2 separate regions of the Homo sapiens genome follow, and region 2 is linked to region 1. The links are contacts of gene promoters, found by promoter capture Hi-C in blood cells and fetal thymus (Javierre and others, 2016). All regions are on one chromosome and are shown on one strand. The core of a region is centred on a gene start or on the middle of the fragment in contact, and the rest is flanking DNA. Distances in the headings are between cores, read along the strand shown.

The links. The method cuts DNA at HindIII sites, captures the fragments that hold promoters and counts their contacts. A CHiCAGO score of 5 or more calls a contact.
Region 2: a contact is called between a fragment that was not itself captured here and the fragment with the promoter of KLHL6 in region 1, in 2 of 17 cell types (megakaryocytes and endothelial precursors). The highest score is 5.4, in megakaryocytes.

Annotation. Positions count from the first base shown.
Region 1 is chr3:183,553,342-183,557,433 of GRCh38, reverse strand. It overlaps KLHL6 (kelch like family member 6), which reads left to right and starts at 1,728. Exons shown (of 7, transcript NM_130446.4): 1 at 1,728-2,073. The coding sequence starts at 1,781. The HindIII fragment of the contact is 8,561 bases long and covers 1-4,092 here.
Region 2 is chr3:183,661,148-183,665,239 of GRCh38, reverse strand. It overlaps KLHL24 (kelch like family member 24), which reads right to left. Exons shown (of 8, transcript NM_017644.3): 4 at 1,598-1,782; 5 at 201-319. Among named protein-coding and RNA genes, the nearest start is that of KLHL24, 28 kb to the right of the region's middle. The HindIII fragment of the contact is 991 bases long and covers 1,664-2,654 here.

The sequences.
Region 1 (4,092 bases), core at 479-2,978:
GGCTGGTCTTGAGCTCCTGACCTTGTGATCCCCCTGCCTTGGTCTCCCAAAGTGCTGGGATTACAGGCATGAGCCACCACGCCCGGCCGTCAGGTTTCTTTATATGCTCCATTATAATCTTTTGGGACCACAATTGTATATTCAGTCCATCATCGATTGAAATGTCATTGTGCTGGGCATGACTGTACTTGTGACCGTTAATTTTAGATGTCAAGTTTACTGGGCTAAGAAATACCTAGCAACCTGTTAAAGCATTACCATGGGGCGTGTCTGTGAGGTTGTTTCCAGGAGAGATTAGTGAGTCTGAGTGGACTCGGTAGAGAAGATACACTCTCAGTGTGGGTGGGCACCATCCAATCAGCCAGGGGCCCAGAGAAAACAAAAACAGAAGAAAGGTCGATGTCTCTATCTCCTGAGGCTGGGATACAGTCATCTCCTGCCTTGAACAACAGGACTCCAGGATCCCCTGCCTTTGGACTTCAGGACTTACACCAGTCTCCCCACCCCCTGGATTCTCAGGCCTTTGGCTTTGGACTGAGAGTTATACCATCTTCTCTGGTTCTGAGGCCTTTGGACTTGAACTGAGCTCTCAGCAGTCTGTCATGCGACTTCTCAGTCTCCATAATCACGTGAGCCAATTCCCCTAATAATTTCCCTCTGCTATGCCTCTCTAGGTATCCTTTTGGTTCTGTCTCTCTGGAGTCCATCATCGACTGAAATATCATTATGCTGGGTATGACTGTAATTGTAATGGTTAATTTTAGATGTCAAGTTTGCTGGGCTAAGAAATACCTAGCAACCTGGTAAAGCATTACTGTTGGGCGTGAGAGAACGCTAACTGATACGCTCCTATAACTTCCCCAGGATATCATGGGATTTTAATAATGACAGTTATTACTACTTAACTGAGACATGCAGAGGTAATGAAAATACTTCAGGATCCACCGTTAGATGCACGGTCAGTAGATGTTGGGCTAATCTGAGACGTGCTATGGCAATTCGGTGTAGACCCACCCTGACTCATCCTCTGAGAAGATGCTGTTGATGGAGTTTTGGAAACCATTTCTTCTGTGCCCCCAAAGCATATTCGAAACAATAGACATTTTTTTTGGTGGGGGAAGACATGAAAGTTTGCCATGACGTTGTTTTCCCCTGGGTAGGGAGGAGGATGAAGATAGACGATCTGCAGTGCCGCCAGAAATGAGAATGTCAGGGATAAGTGGGGTTTCCATGGTTTACAAAGCACGGTTGTTGGATCATTGTGGGGTCTCAGACTCCTGGGAGGAGGAAGTGGGAGGATCATAGACTGTCTCCTGTCCATCCCCTCGCTGACGACTTGGGTTATTGAGCCACTAGGAGTACAAATGTGAAGCAGGAGGATTATAGACTGTCTCCTGTCCATCCCCTCATTGACGACTTGGGTTATTGATAGCATTAGGAGTACAAATGTAACAGCCACCACCGGAGGCTTCCTGCTCACGGATATGAGGTGGGAGATGCACCAAAATAAACACACAGCACTCACAGTGGACTCTGAGAGGACACTCCTCTTCCAGAACCCCCTCCCACACACCTATTCTAAGTAATTTCTAACCCTGTGATTACTCACAGAAAGAAGAAGAATAGAAGTTGCTGGCATTTGTAGTAACAGGATGAGAAAGTGCGAGACTTCCTGTTATGTGTGTGTGACAGCTGGTGATAAGTGGAGGGCCCTGCACAGGAAATCCGCTCAGCTCCTGCAATGGGGCCTGCCTGACACTTGGGCGCTCCTTCAGTCTCGATGTTGATGGCAGGACAAAGGGGCGCCTGGACCATGGGTGATGTGGTCGAGAAGAGTTTGGAAGGGCCCCTGGCACCTTCTACAGATGAGCCCTCCCAGAAAACAGGAGACTTGGTCGAGATCTTAAATGGGGAAAAGGTCAAATTTGACGACGCGGGACTCTCCTTAATTCTTCAGAATGGCCTGGAAACCCTGCGAATGGAAAACGCTCTGACAGATGTCATCTTGTGTGTGGACATTCAGGAATTCTCCTGCCACCGCGTGGTGCTTGCCGCAGCCAGCAACTATTTCAGGTCAGCATGCCTAGGACCAGAGTCAAATTGGGTGCAAGTTGCAAGGAAGAGGTGTGTTAGTGTGAGAGCCCAATCTTGAACAGTTGGCCATGATATTTATGGTTTACATATATATTAAGGCTTGTGTGTCTACTTAAAATATAAGAAAGGACACTATCACACTTTATTTTATTATTTATTTATTTATTTATTTTTGAGACGGAGTTTTGCTTTTGTTGCCCAGGCTGGAGTGCAATGGCGCAATCTCGGTTCACCGCAACCTCTGCCTCCTGGGTTCAAGCGATTCTCCTGCCTCAGCCTCCCGAGTAGCTGGGATTTGCAGGCATGCACCACAACACCCGGATAATTTTGTATTTTCAATAGAGATGGGGTTTCTCCATGTTGGTCAGGTTGGTCTTGAACTCCCGACCTCAGGTGATCCACCCGCCTCCGCCTCCCAAAGTGCTGGCATTACAGGTGTGAGACGCTGCGCCCGGCTTATCACACTTTAAATTTTAGGATTTAGGCCACATTAAAAGAGAGATTGGCATCATTTAAAAGCAATGCTTACATTCTATAGTAAACCTTTTGTGTATATTTCCTTGTTCCAAAGGATGGAAAATTACTGAAGTCATGGGGACTTTTTTCCCCCTTGGTCTGACTGGTGTTGGAAACATAATGTTGTCTTTGTTAATCAACAGACATAGAGAAAAAGGATGTGGCCCCTCTTCTGGAGTTGTCAAATGACTTGTTACAAATTAGGGGCTTCTTTATGTGTAGGCAGTGTGGGGAAAGGGAAAGCAGTTACAAAGATGCTTTAGATGGGAGAGGCCTCTAGTTACGATAAACTGGTGATCTCATAGTGGGAAGGCCTGAAGTCAGGAGACTTGGTTCCTTCTTGACAGTGAAACTTTAGGCAAGTCACAAAGTGCTCTGAATGTCTGTTTCATCATCTGTAAGGTGAGCACAATGATGATCACCTTTCAGGGCTGTCATAATTAAACAAGAGCGTGAAAAGGGTCCTACACAGTGTCTAGCATATAGTAAGTAGATGCTCAATATATCTTTCTTGGAATTCTTTTTCTGATTCTGCTTGATTCAGCTAAGGATGACTTATTGAGTGTTTCCCATGAGCACGTCCCTGGGGTAGGAATTTTATAGCGCTGGGAACCCAGTGAATACACCTGATCCAGTGTTCTCCATATCAGCATGGACATGGGGGAACCAGCCTGCAAGGGCAATGTGGATAATGAAGAAAGTATTTGGGAACTTGAAAAGAAATACCCTTAGAATTCTTCTTAATGAGATTCTTCTTAACTCTTGATTCTGGCTGAGGAAATTGAAAACGATTAACCTATGAAAGTATTATGGAAAGCGTTTTCTTTCTTTCTTTTTTTTTTTTTTGAGGTGCTTGGGGGGAAACGTTTCTTTGTAATTCATAGAGCAGGATCAGCAGGTTGCTGTGGGACTCATTAGGTCTCCTGTGTTGATAAGACAAGGGGATATCTGGGTTTGAGGGAAGCAGTGGCTGCTGTGTGCCAGACAGACATAGTTATCTGATTTTATTTTTGTAACAGCATGATGAAGGTGGCTGATATTTCACAGATGAGGAAATGAAAACTCAGCATTATATATCTGGTCATTGCTGGAGCAGGGACTGGGTATGTTCTGGAAATCCTTGTTACTGCAATGCAAGCTGCCACTAGGTCTGGGACTTCATTCCATGGGAAGTGTGTAAAATATAAAGTGTAAACACAGCCATCAAAATGGGTTGATATAAACACATTACTTTCTCCACCAACCTTGATCACGTGCTTTCACGTTGACTGCAGCCCCTCTCAGGAGTGAGTGAAGTCAAGTTAGCTCAATGCCCTGGGGACGCACATTTAGGTTGATCCTTTTGTATCCCTTGCTATCATAAAATGCATACCTGGAAGCAGTTTTGTTAGCGGGTTGGCCTGGCTGTGGACCAGGCCCGCTGGCTGTGTGCCCTCGAGTTGATCACTGGTCTTCTCTGGTTCTTGGGTTTCTCATCCTAAA
Region 2 (4,092 bases), core at 910-3,409, 110 kb before region 1:
CCAAATTAGGAGAACAAAATATCCATTCAAAAGTACAGTGTCATATTGTTTATATCTTTGGTTTATCTATTGAGGTTAGAAATGGAAGGAAATACAATTTGAATCCAAAATACCCAGAGGGTGAGTAAAATGAAAGATTCAGCTGTGGTATTTACTTTGGAAAGGTACCAGCAATAGTAATAAAAAGTGGTTTCTCTTACTTTACCAAGGAGGACAGCCATTTTGTGACGCCATCTGCCTTTATTGAGAGAGGCAACTCTGATCCAAATATTTAACTGTGAGTTATAAATCCAGACATCACGGCTGTTGATTCTTCCACCTTGAAATGCAAAACAATGCACACACGATAATTTATCATGATATAGCTGTCACCAAGAGATCTGTGCCACCAAGGCATAGGTAAAGAAAACATGGAATTCATTCATCTAATTCAAGAATTTGAGAATTCAGCTCAATAAATAAAGACCTCTTGAAATTTAATGGAAATAGTTCTACAGAGAAAATTTAAACTTTACCAATTGTTATCTTGATAAGTGATAATTATAGATCCAAAATAATTAAATATAGGATGTGAATTTTACAAACATAAAAGATTGTTAATTTAAGAGTAAGACATCAGAAGCACGCAAATAATGGTATTATTCTAAAGGTTTTTTTTTTAATTGACCGATTTTTCAAAAAGCATACTATTGTAAAAAATAAAGTATGTATTGTTATATTTCTCAGTGTGGATAATATATATAATAATCTGCAAAGCTGGTGAAATTATTTTACCAATTAACAGACTTCCCATCATAGATACTATAGTTATACTTTGTACAAGTCTGTCATTTTATTTTCTAATTTTAAAGGTAACATATCACAATCATAAAGAAGTTCAAGTTAAGAATTTTAAAGCAAATCTTATTTCATAAACTTTGCGGAGAATTTCAGAAAACATGGGTGAATTAGAAATGCTTAATTCTATGAGTACTTCTGACTTGCAAAGAGGTAAAGTTTAAAAAATTACAGCATATTCTACATGCATTTGAGAGCATTTAAAATATGACATGATTAAAGGTATCTTCTGGTGGATCTTTTGTAAATCATTCCATGTCATCTTGTACCTGTGTTTTTTTTGTTGTTGCTTTTTGTTTGTTTTTTGTTTTTGAGGCGGAGTCTTGCTTTGTCACCAGGCTGGAGTGCAGTGGCGCGATCTCGGCTTACTGCAATCTCCGCCTCCCGAGTTCAAGTGATTCTCCTGCCTCAGCCTCCTGAGTAGCTGGGACTACAGTTGCCCACTACCACACCTGGCTAATTTTTGTATTTTTTAGTAGAGATGGGGTTTCACCATGTTGGCCAGGATGGTCTCGATCTCCTGACCCGGTGATCTGCTTGCCTCGGCCTCCCAAAGTGCTGGGATTACAGGCGTGAGCCACCGCGCCTGGCCTTGTACCTGTTTTTAAGAGCAAAAAGTCATTCTTGGTTTTATTTGTTGTAAACTGATCTTCCTCAAGTGGGAGTATTCACATTTCACTATTTTAAGACACTGTTGATGTTTAAAATAATGAAGCTGTGTCCAAATTAAAAGTAGCTACTGTAATAATTCTATATTTACCTGAAACAAGAATGTCATTCCTTAGAGCACAGACTGCATACTCTGATTTGGTAAATTCTGGAAGCTTAGCCAAAGACTTCCATTCTCCTGTTACAGGATCGTAGCACTCAGTGTATGGAAGATTAAATCCTCCAACTCGCTCACATCCTCCAACGACAACTATCACCTCAGAATAGCCAGTGGACCTAAAATAATAATTATTAGCGTACATAAATAATATAATAATATTACATTAAAATATACTCCAGATTTTTTCTTAAAACTCTAAAAACAAACCACGCACTATTATAAACAGTTAAGTTTCTTCTCTGTGCATGTGCCAAACGGTACAGCCTGGAAATTACTTACTTTGAGAACGTTTATAGGGGAGCTAGTGACATCATTATTCCACAGAAAATTTCTGTTGCTATTTTTTTCTATTGGTTTTGACCTGAAAATTGTAAAAAAGTCCAAAGATCCTATCTAACCCAATCAGAATCCTGGCAATATTAAGGATGACTTTCAAATGCAGTTTTGCAGTGATTCAGATACGCATAACCACACAAGGTAAGATAATGCATTTTTTTCTAACTGTAGGAAAATGGTGCTCTTTCATCAGCTTGCTAGTTCTAAAAAACTAATTCATAGTATAATCCAAGCACCCTTTAAAGGAATATGTATATGTACTTGTTCAGAAATTAGTTTTTAAAATACAAAGTCAAGTAAATTAAGGTAATACAACTCAAAATGTTGGGCAATCACTAAAAAGGCTAACAGTTTATAACAAGAATGTTAAAGGAGAAAAGCAAGATGAAAAACTGTACATTAGGCATATTCAATACTATCTAAAAAATGTATCTGGAAAGAATATACCAAAATGCTAAAGATAGTTGTCTCTGAATTGTTTGGCTCCCCCCATTTCTATCATTACAAATTTCCAAACCAATAATGAGCCTGAGCTATTTTTAGAATGCAAAAAACAGCATTTAACACCACTAAAAGAATTCTAATGTTTCTGTTAATCACTGGCTTCTCTCATTTTTTAGATTTAAAATAGAGACAGGAATAACCAAAAGCTTATCCACAATTTTTTGTTCATAAAATTCAATTGATAGTTTAGGAATTTTAAAATTCTTTAGCTTTTATATTTTTCACAAATATAATCTAAATGAAAATGTTTTATAGTTACATTTTATGGTTGCTACAAGTTAAGTCTCACAAAGAAAAATGCCAACAATCCTTCTTCTCTTACTTATAGAGGGGAAAAAAAAACCCACATCAGGACACTGATTTGTAATTTTAGTCAGTGTGCTGTTACACAATTACAGTAGGAAAAAACAAGCAATATTGGCGTGTCTCTTTTAACAGAGCTGTTCTAGCTACATTTACTCAGACCTATGTCAACTAACCAAATCACGTACCTATTCTATGCCAGGCATACTTTTTCCGTTATAAAATCAGAAATAAATATGGGAGAAAAGAATTTTCTCTATACATGCAAACAAAAGTACTTTTAGGAATCCAGGAAATTATATAACCTTTACCTAGTATTTAGTAAAACATTAACAGAAGGACCTAAATATTATCAGTAATATTTACTATTTTCCAAGTAATTCCAAAATAAAAGTATTAAAAATAAAGAGAGCACAGCACCAGATACTTTAGTAGTATAACTACTGACTTATCTATCATTCTTTCCATATAAGTATTTCCTAAAACACACTTAAAATCTAAGACAAATCCTCAAAAAAGGTGATATTCCTCAAAGTCTTATTTATTAATCAATCAAAACAAACACTGCTAGTCACTGAAGTTAAATCACTTCTGTCTTAATATAAAATCCAGAGTAATGATTATATATCATAGGATTTTGTTTTATCCTTTCCTTATTGTACATTACTTGGTTTATACTTTCCCTTTGCTTAAACTCGCTTGCCTTTTTCAAGACTTCTTAGCCCAATAAACATATGTTATCTGTTTTTGTACTTTGGAACAGAAAGAGAAAACAGCATGAGAAGCTAATTGCTAAAACATTTAGTACCAATAAATAAAGGGTAACTTCAATGTCTGCTAGAATGTGTGTCTATCTGAAAGGATTAGCAAGCTAGTAGTTTTGCCTGTATTAAATATCCTATTTGCAACCAAATGGTTTTTAGCTTAATTAGATATATCTGATGTTCTCATCACGGACTGTTAACCCAATAAAAGCATTATTTCTTGAGCTTGGAGAAATACTTATCTCAGGCAGGGAGCTAATGGCCTTAAAGGAAATAGGTTACTCCAGCTGATAATGGCAAGTAAAACAAAATGGCAGGAAAGATGATAGTATAGCATAAATAAAATTCTGGACACCCATGTAATCTATTTCTAGAGAGTGAATGCCATGTCACTCTATTTCATTAATTCTTTTTTTGTTTTTCTTTCAAATAGAGACAAGGTCTTACTCTATTGCCAAGGCTGGAGTGCAGTGGCGAGATTGTGGCTCACTGCAACTCCAACTCCTGGCTGAAGTGAGC